Regions from separate parts of the Homo sapiens genome. Here region 2 is linked to region 1. Evidence: promoter capture Hi-C in 16 types of primary human blood cells and fetal thymus (Javierre and others, 2016). All regions are on one chromosome and are shown on one strand. Each heading gives the region's core, a stretch centred on a gene start or on the middle of the fragment in contact. The rest is flanking DNA. Distances are from core to core; before and after follow the strand shown. Region 1 holds the start of USP50 (ubiquitin specific peptidase 50). Region 2 overlaps AP4E1 (adaptor related protein complex 4 subunit epsilon 1).

What was found. Contacts are between HindIII fragments. The CHiCAGO score rates a contact against its expected background, and 5 or more counts as called.
Region 2: a fragment that was not itself captured here is called in contact with the fragment with the promoter of USP50 in region 1 in 3 of 17 cell types (naive CD4 T cells, activated CD4 T cells and total CD8 T cells); the score reaches 6.3 in naive CD4 T cells.

The regions. Positions count from the first base shown.
Region 1 is chr15:50,543,904-50,551,002 of GRCh38, reverse strand. USP50 (ubiquitin specific peptidase 50) reads left to right here and starts at 4,337. Exons shown (of 7, transcript NM_203494.5): 1 at 4,337-4,530; 2 at 6,222-6,416. The coding sequence starts at 4,478. The HindIII fragment of the contact is 3,769 bases long and covers 2,390-6,158 here.
Region 2 is chr15:50,934,132-50,941,230 of GRCh38, reverse strand. AP4E1 (adaptor related protein complex 4 subunit epsilon 1) reads right to left here. Exons shown (of 21, transcript NM_007347.5): 8 at 6,534-6,607. Among named protein-coding and RNA genes, the nearest start is that of AP4E1, 29 kb to the right of the region's middle. The HindIII fragment of the contact is 353 bases long and covers 3,681-4,033 here.

The sequences.
Region 1 (7,099 bases), core at 3,088-5,587:
CCCTGTCTCAAAAAACACACACACAAAAAAACATGAAAATATCAGATGCGCACCCATAAAGGATGAGTTCATGTCCTTTGCAGGGACATGGATGAAGCTGGAAACCATCATTCTCAGCAAACAGAAGAACAGAAAACCAAATACCACATGTTCTCACTCATAAGCAGGAGTTGAACAATGAGAACACATGGACACAGGGAGGAGAACATCACACACCGGGGCCTGTCAGGGAGTGGGGAGCTAGAGGAAGGATAGCATGGGTGCAGCAAACCACCATGGCACACATATACCTATGTAACCTGCACGTTCTGCACATGTATCCCAGAACTTAAAGTATAATTTAAAAATAAATAAATAAAATATCAGATGTAATCCATTGAACAAAACGGGAATTTGTGAGTCCATGCTGATTAAAATAAAAGAATAAATGGAGACAGCCAGGTGCGGTGGCTCACGCCTGTAATCCCAACACTTTGGGAGGCCAAGGTGGATTGCTTCGAGCTCAGGAGTTCAAGACCAGCGTGGGCAACGTGGCAAAACCCTGTCTCTACAAAAATTACAAAAATTATCCAGGCATTGGTGGCGTGCACCTGTAGTCCCAGCTACACAGGAGGCTGAAGCTGGAGAATCGCTTAAGCCTGGGAAGTGGAGGTTGCAGGAAGCTGAGATTGTGCCACTGCACTCCAACCTGGGGGACAGTGAGACCCTGTCACAAAAAAAAAAAAAAGAAATGGAGAAACTTCTCTTTATAGTCGAGTACCAACAGATGAATGTAGTCAGAATAATGATATTAGAAAATCACCACTTGGCAATCACCATAGCAAAAATCCAGCCAAGAAACATCAATTACTAAAACTAATGTATGAAAGTTTGATGAGGAACAGACCATTTACACAGTCTCAAAGTCCTCCCTGCAAAATGCTTCCTGATGATTACAAAAGGAAAAACTACATTGGAGAAACCTGGGAGACCCTACCTCATTCAAGTTATCACAGTTAATCACAGTTCACATAACCAGTGCTGGGACAAATCAAAATTGTATAACATTTAATACAATGCAATAAGAATATAGCTTCACTTCTGTGATATTCTTCATAAAAATGCATAATGTGAATCTAATGAGGAAACATCAGAGAACATAGTTCCCCTAATGTTCTTTTATGGCAATTTTTTTTTTCTGATCTGGGATTCAGTCCGGATAGATGTAGCTCCTGAATAGAAATTAAGGGATATTCTTCACAATAATTGGTCAGTAATCTTCAAAAGTCAAGTTCATGAAAATCAAGGAAATACATAGAACCGTTTCAGGTTGAAGGAGCCTAAAAGGGACATGAAAACTAAATGCAATGTGAGATCCCAGCTAAACTATATCTGGTTTTCCTTTTTGAGTTTTGTTTTGTTTTGTTTTGAGACAGTCTTGTTCTATTGCCCAGGCTAGAGGGCAGTGGCATGATCTTGACTCACTGCAATTTCCGCCTCCCAGGTTCAAGGGATTCTCGTGCCTCAGATTCCAGAGTAGCTAGGATTACAGGCCCGTGCCACCATGCCCAGCTATTCTTTTTGTATTTTTAGTAGAGACAGGGTTTCGCCATGTTGGCCAGGCTGGTCTCTAACTCCTGGCCTCAAGTGATCTACCCGCCTCAGCCTCCCAAAACGCTGGGATTGCAAGTGTAAGCCACCACTCCTGGCTTTTGGGGTTCTTTTTGAGACAGGGTCTCTGTCACCCAGGCTGGAGTGCAATGGCACAATCACAGCTCACTGCAAGCATGACGTCCTGGGCTCAAGTGATCCTTCCACCTTGGCTTCCTGAGTAGCTGGAACTACAGTCATACACCACCATGCCCGGCTAATTATTATTATTATTTTTTTTGGTAGACGGAGGGTGGAGAGTGGGGTGGGGGGGAATGGGGGTGGGGGTGGGGGATATTCTCACTGTGTTGCCCAAACTGGTCTTGAATTCCTGGACTCAAGCGATTCTCCTACCTCGGCCTCCCCAAGTGCTGGGATTACAGGCATGAGCCACCACACCCAGCCCCATGTCTGGTTTTAAACTAAGCTTAGTAGTTTGTTATAGAGCACAGAATATTAACACATAGATAATCTAACTCATGAACATAGATACAAAACCCTTGAACAAAAAGATTAACAACTAGAACCCAACAATTCACGAAAATAATAACTACAGCTCAAACAAAATATACCTGAGGAATAGAAGATTAATATGTGACCATCATTGATAATGAACAACAATAACAGAATAAGAAAGAAAATCTCATGATTACCTCAATAAATACAGAGAAATCTGGTCATACTCACTATCCATTCATGATTACAACTCTTCAATACTATGTCTGCAAACATCATACTTAATGGTGAATTATCCAAAGCTTTCTCTCTGAGTTAAGCAATTAGCTATCTCCACTTCTATTCACTATTTTACTATGTTCACAATTTTTCACTATTTTCACTATTTTACTGGCAGTCCTCACTAGTAAAGAAGAAGTAAGACTCAGAAAAAAATTAAACTGATTTTGTTGCAGACAACTTGAATGTGTTTATAAAAAATCCAAAGAACCTATGTAAAAATTAGACTTAAGTAAGTCAAGTTAGGCCATACTCAGGGGCTCACATCTGTAATCCTAGCACTTTGGGAGGGTGAGGTGGGAGGATTGCTTGAGCCCATGAGTTCGAGACCAGCCTGGGCAACATAGCGAGACCCTGTCTCTATTTAAATAAAAATTAAAAAATTAAAGAGTAAGTCAGGTTAGAAAGGTTCCTGGATAGACAACCAACATATGACAAATAATTGTATTTTTACCTACCAGCATCAAACACAAAATGAAACTTTTAAAAGACCCTATTGATTAGGAGAAAATGAAGGACTTGGGAGAGCCTCACTGACAAATAGAGCAAGTTTACAGGATTTAAGTCCTGCAGAACCACCACTGAGGTGACTTGGAGAGATACCTCTGTAAATACATCGCAAATATCAAATACCTGCAAGAGAGGACAGCTCTACTTGCCAGGATTCCTTATCCAGGTGTCAAAGAATGAATATTCTAAATATCTTCGTGTAGCCTGAGCATATATGTGGGTTTTTTTTAACCATTTAGACATAAGTTGGGGTGCATACTATGGATTCCTCAACACCTTGCTTTTTTTGACTTACCAGTCATATATCTGGAGAGAAATCCATTTTAGCAAAAAATATGTGTAATATATTCTTTCTTTTTAATTTTTTTTTTCTTTTTTTGAGACCGAGTCTTCGCTTTGTTGCCCAGGCTGGAGTGCAGTGGCGCGATCTCGGCTCACGGCAAGCTCCGCCTCCCGGGTTCACGTCATTCTTCTGCCTCAGTTTCCCGAGTAGCTGGGACTACAGGCGCCCGCCACCACGCCCAGTTAATTGTATTTTTAGTAGAGATGGGGTTTCACCGTGTTAGCCAGGATGGTCTCTGTCTCCTGACCTCGTGATCCTCCCGCCTCAGCCTCCCAAAGTGCTGGGATTACAGGCGTGAGCCGATGCGCCCGGCCTCTTTTTAATTTTTTAAACTTGCAGAAGAGTTGCAAGAATAGTGCTCTTTAGTGGGCCTTCACTCGGAATCACCAACTGCTGGCGTGTGGGTGCACTGGCTTTATAGTATGTGCTTTATCAGTCCCCTTCCTTCCTGTCCTCCTGTCCCTGTGTGCTTCCTGAACCGTTTGAAAATAGGTTGCATATATCATGCCCCTGTGCCCCGAAAAACTTCAGTGTGTATTTTCTAAGAACAAGGGCATCCCCTTGCATAAACACAGTACAATCTTATCAAATTCAGAAGATTCAACATTAATAGAAAAAACTATCTGCATATTATCCATATTCAAATTTCATCAATCGTTCCCATAATGTTCTTTTATGGCAATTTTTTTTTTCTGATCCGGTATTCAGTCCGGATAGATCTAGCTCCTGAATAGAAGTGGAAATCCTCGCTCCCCGGGGTGAGGAAATTCCCTCAGGGCTCCTAGGTGTGGTGTAGTCGCTGGGAAGGGGGAATGAGTGCCCAGAGCAGGCAGGGTTGCCGTAGTGTCCACTAACTCAGTGGCGGTAAATTTTTGTGCACATGTTAAGTGTGTGTGTGTGTATGTGTAATATATATATACACAAGAGAAACTGAGTGATGGAAGAAGGAAGAGAGGTTATATGTGTAGTTCATTCTCTGGAGCCTAATCTTTCTAAAACATTTCAGACAACCCAGTAACAGTGTCTCATGGCAACATGATAGAATCTTGAAGGTGAATGGAAAGGATTATGATGTACGGAAAATCCAAGTTGGAGTGGTGCCTGATACAGGTGAAAATCAGTTCGCAGCTACTGGAAGAGAGAGGAGCATATCAATTGTTTAAAACAAAAAGCCAGCGTTAACAGGCTCAGAGAAATGAAGTTGAAAGGAATAGATGTAGCTCCTGAATAGAAGCAAAAGTCCAACGTGGTTCCATTAAAATGACTTCTCAGCCGTCTCTCCCTGCAGATGACTTCGATATCTACCACGTCCTGTGAGCCTTGATCTACTACAGCTTTCTAGATTAGCCCAGTGGTGGGAAAGTCAAGCTCAGAGGAGTCAGGGGACACACACTGCATTCAGGAGGGTTCTCCCAGGTGTGACCCATGGAAGGTCCCCGGAAAGGAAGGAAGATTGTACCTAATATCTTGGCAATAAATACATGTCCTTCCTAAAGGGTGACAGTCTAGGACCTCCTGTGGTATCAGTGAGTAAAAGTGAAAATGACCATGCTTATAACAGTGAACACTTTTCAAACTGGCATAACTGTACTTAAAAGTATGTATGAGGTAAGGTCACTGTCTCATGGAGCCCCAACTTTAGATACAATATATGGAAAGAAAAATCCGAGAGGACATAGATACCAGGCTGCCTGGCACAATACAAAAAATTGTAAGAGGAAGCTCTGTGCAGGGAGAGGAGGTCCCGTTTGGAACCCTCAGTGTTCTCTCTGTGCAGGCAGGTCTGGGCAATTCACATGAACACTCTAATCCTGTAGCTTACTGGGAAGGACATCCTAGATCAATCACTTAAAAAAATTTTTCAGTTGTCATTTAGACGAACCTGTGTCAAGTAGCTTGCATGATACCTGCATAATCCTCACAACCATCCTATCAGGCAGATGATATTATTCCTATTTTATAGATGAGAAACGGACATAGAATCCCAGATCCTATAATTAATAAACGGCATAGTTGGGATTTAAACTAAGATCTATATTTTTACAAAGTCTGTGCTCTTTCTCCTCTCCGTGTATATGTGTGTGTGTGTGTTTATATGTATATAGCTATATACATACACATATACACATATGTGTGCTCTTAAGATATATATATTCATGCTCTTAATGTGCATATATTATGCCTTCAATATATATGCCATACATACATATATATACAAATATATACATATATATCACATATATAGAGACAATCTTAATATATATAGACAATCTTAATATATGTAAATCCAAATATCTTAATGGATAGGTATGTTGGGAGAGAGGGAGGGAGGTAAACAGATAGGTGGATATTCCTTTTTTTACATACCACCACACACCCCATGAGTAAATGACTACATCATTTAAACCTGACATCTCATCTGTAAAATGGGATGTAAAAATAATCGTTCCTGCCTTACACAATTGTTGAAAGATTTAATGGGAAAATGCATGTTAAGTACTTAAATAGTGCCAGGCTCACTACCTGATAGCTATTGTTTTATTAACTATTAATAATAATAATAATAATTTAATTACTTGCCCAGCAAGTTGTCAGTTGTCTTGCTTTAGTTTTAGAAGGAAATTTTTATCTGTCTTATTTGGCTTCAGGTACTTGTTCACAGTTCTGGTCTAAGTTATGTAATTTTGTTTTTAATTTAATTTATTTATGTAATAGAGACAAGATCTCACTATGTTACCCTGGCTGGTCTCAAACTCCTGGCCTCAAGCAATCCTCCCACCTCGGCCTCCCAAAGGGCTGGGATTACAGGTGTGAGCCACTATGCTCTGCCATAATACAATTTTAGACTCCAAGTTCCAATACTTCCTGTCCTTGGTAGGGAATGTGTTTGGAGGAAGTCTTATTAAGAACTCTTCTTTATTTCATAATATTAAGAGAAGCTTATTGTCATTTGTACATATTTTGTTCTCTCAAAACCCTTTCTTCCCATGTGGCACCAACACAGTGCAGAGTGCACAGATTACTATGATACCCTTCCAGTTAAGGAGGCTGATGGGAACCAGCCCCATTTTCAGGGTGTCACTGGCTTGTGGAACTTGGGCAACACATGCTGCGTGAATGCCATCTCACAGTGTCTCTGCAGCATCTTGCCGCTGGTGGAATACTTTCTCACCGGGAAGTATATCACCGCTCTGCAAAAGTAAGACCATTTGCATTCCCTGCAGCCCAGCCCCCACCCCCACTTCCCCACAGATGAGGTTAGAGAAGGAACTCTGGAATCCCTATTAAGAGATAAACAAACAAGTCAGTAGAGGTTGTAGCTTCCCAGATAACACGCTAGAGTAAGTAAAAGTGGGAAGGGCAACCAAGAAATGAATGCAGCTCCTTTTTTTTTTATTTTTTATTTTTTTTTATTGTTGTTGTTGAGCCAGGGTCTCGTTCTGTTGCCCAGGCTGGAGTGCAGTGGTGCGATCTTGGCTCCCTGCAACCTCTGTTCCTCGGGTTCAAGTGACCCTCCTGCCTCAGCCTCCTGAGTAGCTGGGATTACAGGCACGCGCCACCATGCCTGGCTAATTTTTTTTGTATTTTTGTAATTTTTTGTATTTTTAGTAGAGACGGGGTTTCACCATGTTGGCCAGGCTGGTCTTGAGCTCCTGGCCTCAAGTGATCCACCCCTCCCAACCTACCACCTCGGCCCCCCAAAGTGCTGGCATTACAGGTGTGAGCCACTGAGCCTGGCATCCTTTTTTTTCTTTTAGACAGTCTTGTTCTGTCACCCAAGCTGGGGTGAAGTAGTGGTATGATCACAGCTCACTGCAGCCTCGACCTTCTGGGGGCTCAAGCTATCCTCCTGCATTGGCCTCCCAAAGTGCTGGGGTTACA
Region 2 (7,099 bases), core at 2,608-5,107, 390 kb before region 1:
TACTGGTAATAATTATGCATTTATTAATGGAACAAGTATTTACTGAACACCTCCCATGTGCCAGGCATGGTTTCAGTACTATGAATATAGCAGTGAACAAAACAGATGGAAAAAAACATCCTGCCCTCAAGGAGTTCACATTCTAATGGAAACATCAATAACAGATTCATTATTCCTATATAAAAAGATATTTCCCACGTTCCTTTAATGCTTTAAAATGGTTTATTCTCAAATAGTTTCGACCATTTACGTGCCAAAATTGCGTATGTAGTTTATTTCAACATAATCATTTTATAGGATGATCCAGTATTTATTTCAAAGATACAGTCCCTACTCATAAATCTTCAAACTATTCTTTAAAATAACCTCAAAGCACATAAAATAATCTACTGGACATCTTGATAGCATTCAAATTTTATTTTCTGATACATTCGAAAGTCTCATCACTATGACAGATGATCAAAGTGAATGATCAAAATGGACACTAAAGTTTTTTTCAAATTATTTGAAAAAGCATGAGTCATGCGGTTGGAGCTTTGCCATGATAAAGAAAAATCACTGAAAGGACATTAAGTCTTATGTGTTCTATGGAATCATAGTATCAGAAGTGTGACACAGTGAAGGTACAGAATCAACACTTAAAAACTGTTCTAGTACAAGTTGAAGTATATCAAGTGTCCTGATACAATCACTCCTTCTCTATTTCCAAAAGCTTAAAATATAACCCGACATTCTCTTTATGTACAAAATATATTCTGAATATTCAGCTAGCTATGTTTTACACTATGTTGCCTATCGATTAATGCACAAATAAATTTTGTGGAAAAAACTTCTATAAACCTCTGTCTTTTTCTCAAATTTACAAGGAAAGAAAAGACAAAAAAAAATTTTAAACCTCTTCTATAACAGAGACAGAAAAAAAATCAGATATATTAATTTTTCTTTAAGAAAGGAACTGACTTTAAATGAAAACTACAGAGTAAGTTGGCTGAACCTAAAGAGACTTTGTATATTCAGATGCTATGCTATAAAATGTCTTTACTCTGTGCTGTGAAAAAAGTTCGCTTTATGATTCATGAACTAGACAAACTAAACAAAGAGAACCTTAGTCAATTGACTAATAAGATAAGGCAGGAATGGAGAAACTGCCACTAAATCCAGCCTTCAGCCTATTTTTAAAATGCCACTAAATCCAGCCTTCAGCCTATTTTTATAGGCCTGTGAACTAAAGAAAGATTTTTACATTTTTAAAAGGCTGTAAAAAACAAAACAAAAAGCAAAGGAGAATATGCGACAGAAACCTCCATGACCTGCAAAGCCTAAAATATTTACTATCTGGCCCTCTTTTCAGAAAAAGTTTGCTGAACTGTGAACTACCATGACAGTCCTAAGATTTCAAATGATGATATTCCATTTTCCAACATAACTGACACATTTTTCATTACGGCTTCCTACCATTAAGAACTCTCTTGCTATTAAATTGTTTTACTAACAAAAGCCTGCCATTACCCATCCAAAATTTAAACGTTTATATTCAGATGCTCATAAAGTTTCTGGGGTGCCAACATGGGAAAAAAAATAATAGTTCAAAAACAGCACTTATTTTTAGTTTCCTTAGGCATAATTGAGCTGAAAATGAATTAAATTGATTTTTAAATTATTTTCTCACCCAGAGCTAAGTCATTTTATTCTCCAACTCTACAAATATCTAAGTATAAGTTCATAATTGAAAGAGCAGCCACTCTGCTGTCTCCTCTCTGTGGTGGTGAAGTAAAATACAACTGAGAATTTCTTTTTTTTTTTTTGAGATGCAGTCTGCAACCTCCACCCCCCAGGTTCAAGTGATTCTCCTGCCTTGGCCTCCCAAGTAGCTGGCAGTACAAGCGTGCACCATCATGGCCAGCTAATTTTTGTATTTTTAGTAGAGACAGGGTTTCACCATGTTGGCCAGGCTGGTTTTGAACTCCTAACCTCAAGTGATCTGCCCAACTCAGCCTCCCAAAGTGCTGGGATTACAGGCATGAGCCACCTTGCCCGGCCACAACTGAGGGTTTCTAAACTTAAAAATACAACATGGAACTTGGTTACTCTTCAGTACTCTTGGTTACTCTCTTGGTACTAATTAAAATGCTATAAAGCATAAATTACTAAATTAAAAATTAATAATGTTCCACCATTTATGACACTGCAGTTTCATCATAGATATTTTGGGTTGGATTATGTATGCTCAAACAAAATGTGAAGTTCTTCTGACACCTTATCCCTCAGAATAGAGTTTACTCTCACTTTAATTAAGTTAAATAAGTATCTACTGACATTATTCTGGCAGGAGAGAGGAGGTATCACCCAATGGGAATGGAATCCAGGCTCTCTACTCTGTCTCCTTTGATACCTGGGGATGGAGAGGCTCCTGGTTATTGTTGGAGGGAGTATCAACTGATTCTACCCTGCCTGGGAGAGAGAGGGGTACCTCATTACTGCTTCCTTTGTGGCCTCCAGTGACACTATGAGGGAGTGGCCTCATTATCGCTGATCAGGAGTGGAAGTTCTGACTGTCCACCAGGCTTTCTCTAACACCCACGCCTCCGAACCCTGGCCACAAAGAGGGGAAAATTACCTCTTTACTCCCTACTTCCAGATGGGAAAAATCCAGACTTCCCAAGTCACCTCTGACAGCGTAAGGAAGGGGCCTTCCTTATCACCTGGCATCAATGAAATTCCAGCTGTCTCTTGGGCTTCTGTCACCACTCTAGTGGGGGGTTAGGGAGGGTGTGTTGGGGCATGTCATTATACCTGGTGATGATGGAAATCTTGGCTTTTTCCTCAGCCTTTGCTGGAGGGGATGGGTCCACAGTTTTTTCCTATGCTTGGAAGGAATAGAGGGGTTATCATCTAAAAGTTTTCTACCTTGCTAATTTCCCTTTTCTTCTTGGTCCTTTGGTGAGAGAGGGCAGGCTTTTCTGGGGGTGTTTTTGTCTGCGTCTGTTGGCATTTCCAGACTGCTGGCTCTTCAGTACCCAGTCTGGGGTACCCGAGGCAAAAAGAAAACCCAGGGTACACACCACCGTGTCTGTTTCTTTCCTTGTGTCCTGAGGTCTCTAACCAGCCTGACTTGTTCTCCACCTTCCTGAGTCTTATGTTTCTTATACATAGTATCCAAGGGTTTTAGGTGAAATTAGTGAGAAAAAAAACGGAAAAGTACTTCTATCTACCTACTTTTGATGGCTTTTGTCCCTTGTACTCCATTTTATATAATTTTCTCAATTTACTAATTTACTAAAAATGATATTCTCATGTTATCAGTACCTTATCCAAAAACCTTCCATACCTCCGGATTTACAAATCCAAACTCATTTGGCTGTTGTGACAGGTCCTCCACAATACCGCCCTTCCACTGCTCCCCACCATAAATTATCCTTTCAGACTGGTGAGACATTGTCTCTGAAACTGTTTTTAAATAGCCCCATGTCTACACCTTCTCTCATGTTCCCTCCACCTAAAAGCCCCTTCAATCTCCCTTCTGCCTATCTAAATCTTATCTACCTTTCAGGGTCCTATCACATCAGTAAATCCCTATCTGTGCCCTCAGGCCCTTAATGATCTCTACTTCCTCGGAACTCCTACAATACTTATTTCCCTGAACCATCCCTTCACATTCTGCCTTACACTGGTATTAAGCTTTCATGAACAAGTTATCTTTCCACTATATTGTGAATTTCTTAAAGACAAAGGTCATATATTATACTTCTTCATATCCTATACACCACTTTATACAATGCCTGGCACATAGCAGATATTCAATAGATGTCTTTAATGTAATTTATTTCTTGATTAGACACTAAATTGTAATAATAGAGCTTCCATAAAAATAAAATATAGAAAGTACTAATACTGAAACCCACTTAGATAACTGATAAAGTAAATAACTTCTTCTTCCTTTAATTCAATTAAAGCATATTACTCATTAACACAGTACCAGCTACTGAGATATGCTGGTTAATAAGAGAGACACAGTCCCTGCCCTTATGAAGCTTACAATTAAAATTAACATTCTTAAGCAGTAAAATACCTATATCAGGATTGCTAGCAAATACTCTACCACTGATATAATCAATGTAAGTTATAAGCTCTATCAATACAGATATAGAGAAAAGCATAACAATGAAAAGCTAAACAAAGGAAATGAAACAACAGGAACTATAAGGTTTCTGTAGCAAGGTGAAACACTGGACCAAGAGCCTGCAAAGAAAGAAACTGTTGGTGTTGGTTCAAGCAATCATTTTTTTTTTTTGAGACAGAGTCTTGCTATGTAGCAAAGGCTAGAGTGCAGTGGCATGATCTTGGCTCACTGTAACCTCTGCCTCCCAGGTCCCGGTTCAAGCAATTCTCCTGCATCAGCCTCCCGAGTAGCTGGGATTACAGGAACACGCCACCATGCCCAGCTAATATTTGTATTTTTAGTAGAGACAGGGTTTCACCATATTGGCCAGGTTGGTCTTGAACTCCCGACCTTGTGATCCGCCCACCTCGGCCTCCCAAAGTGCTGGGATCACAGGCGTGAGCCACCATGCCTGGCCAAGCAATCTTAATAAAAGGGTCATTCTGGAAAATATTAAAAAATATTTCCTCAGGTATACAGTATTCTCCAAATCAAAAGGAACGGGTAACAGTGGTTATCCCCAGGAAAGGGAACTGGGTGGTGGGTGATAAGGGTGGAAAGGACACTTACTGTTCATTGTATACCCTTTTGTACCTTTTGAATTTTGACCCATGTGCATATATTACCTATTCAAAAAAATAAAAAAATTAAAGCTGAAATGTCAATTATTAAAATAAAATAAAAAAAACTTTCTGCAAGGGAAAAAAAAAAAGCAGATTTTTAACTGAATTTTAAGCAGAATTTCCCGAAAGACTTTCAAACCCTTATCCTGGACACTGGTTACATCGCAAACAAAAAACTTTAAATTACTTTAACTTACTGGAAAAATTCTGACACTTTTCTAGATCTTCTCAGAAAATCACCTGCTTCAATAAGGGTCATCCACATCTGTGACCCCTTATTCCTGCATAGCAGGAACCTATATAATATCAACTGTTTATTACACTATATACTCATAAGGACAAGGCCTGTGTCTACCTTATTCTTCCCTTTACTTTCCACACTTAGCATGGAGAGATACATAAGTCAATCAACTCTTTCCTCAATCCGCACCTAGTTTAAAACACAATCAAGTTTTTGTTTCACAGGCACTCTATAAATGCTGGCTGAACAAATTAATAAAGCATCCTTATTACCTTAATTACCATTCATACATGCAAAACAAAAATCTATCCTTCAAAGTTTACCACCCCAATTCACTACCATGTGCATTATTTTTCTTGTATTAGTCTCATACACACAATCCTTTTTCCTTATTTGGACTGCATCTTTGTCAGGCACTTTTTATTTCAGTTAAACTAGTTCAATTTCTGTCCTCTGGTCTAACCTACATTTCTACAACCATTGTTCTTAAAGGTCCGCAGGTTATCCTTGTCTCAAAGAAAAAGTAATGCTCTTCATTTCCTACTTCATGATATTTTACCAGATTAAGAAATGACTTCTCATTTGAGTTACATCTCTCAGTGCCTCTTCTACTGTTGTCCTCCAGAGCATGCAAAATTCAAACTGTTCTACCTTTTAAATAGCTCCAAATATCTCAATTTCCTCACTGAGCTTTCTCAGGCTAATCAAAAAGAACAGCTCCTCCCGTTGGCTGTTAAAATTGGAAGTTTTTTTGGCTACTTTCTCAGTTTTCTACCCCCTTCCCTCAACTTACTCTTGTCTCCTATTACTAATTTTTAAATTGCATGTAACAATTTATTGTCTCTTCACAAAATAGTATACTATTATTCCACGTCTATATATTCCTGCCTATATCCTATTCATCCTTCAGATGTCTTCTTAAATATTTCTTTCTCAGGAAAACCTTCTTTATTCTTCCCCTCACCTAAGACTAGCTGCTATATTCTCCCACCATGCCCTGCAATTCTCTTTTGTAACATTAACAACACCTATCCCTGTCCATCAATCTAGTTTATAAGCCCCATAATGTTTTATTCACTGCTGTATTCTAAGTACCTTGCATAGGGACTGACAAATAACAGAAATTTAATAAAATATCTGACAACTAGTCGATTGATTTATTTAAGAACTGTCTTTGAATACCGTAAATGTTTACCAAGCATGGAACAAATCTATGGAGTTATCTTCACAGTCAATTAGATACTTGAAAAAAATAGATAATTGATATGTGTTTTCAATAGAGACAATTATAATAATAAACTTAGGTCAACATTTAGAACATGCCATGAGTTCAAATTACTCTTATCTATCAGTAATTAAATGCTTACATTGAAAAAATAATAATCCAAAGAACTATCTTAAAATCAGTGTATAAAATTCTATTGGAATTTATAGCATTCTAACACAGATTTAACTGCAATACTAAAAAACATTATTAGTCATTAGAGTAATATTTACATATATTACCTACCATATGTGACATTGTGATTTAACTCAGCTCTTCGTAAGGATTCATCAAGAACATCATACATTAATTCACTTGTCCTGTTTAAAAGATATTTTATTTGCAGTAGAATTATAGTATTCTAACCCAATAAAACAGTTTTTCAAACTTCTCTTTAAAACTGAGGATCTACAGAAGAGAAGTGAAAGAAATTCATTTTATGATGAAGTTATGGAAATTTCACTTCTTAAAAGGTTTGCTGTTTTTCATGAGCTTGAACTTCCTACTTTATCAAAGTTGACTAGTTAACCAATGAGATATATATGTCAATCAACTCTTTCCTCACTGTGCCTAGTTTATAAACCAAGTTTTTATTTGGTTGAACATACTATATTTTATAATTTTCTTTCAATAGAATATTTCTAAGTTACCATAGTAATACTTCATATATTCATATTATTTCAGATAGCATATTAACTGTATTTTACCCAGATACCATGAAAAAGTTTTCAAATACTAGTCTTTCCTTGAGTAGTAACTAGGTTCTTCAGAAAGAAAATTTTTACTTACATTTACATTAAATATAAAAAAAG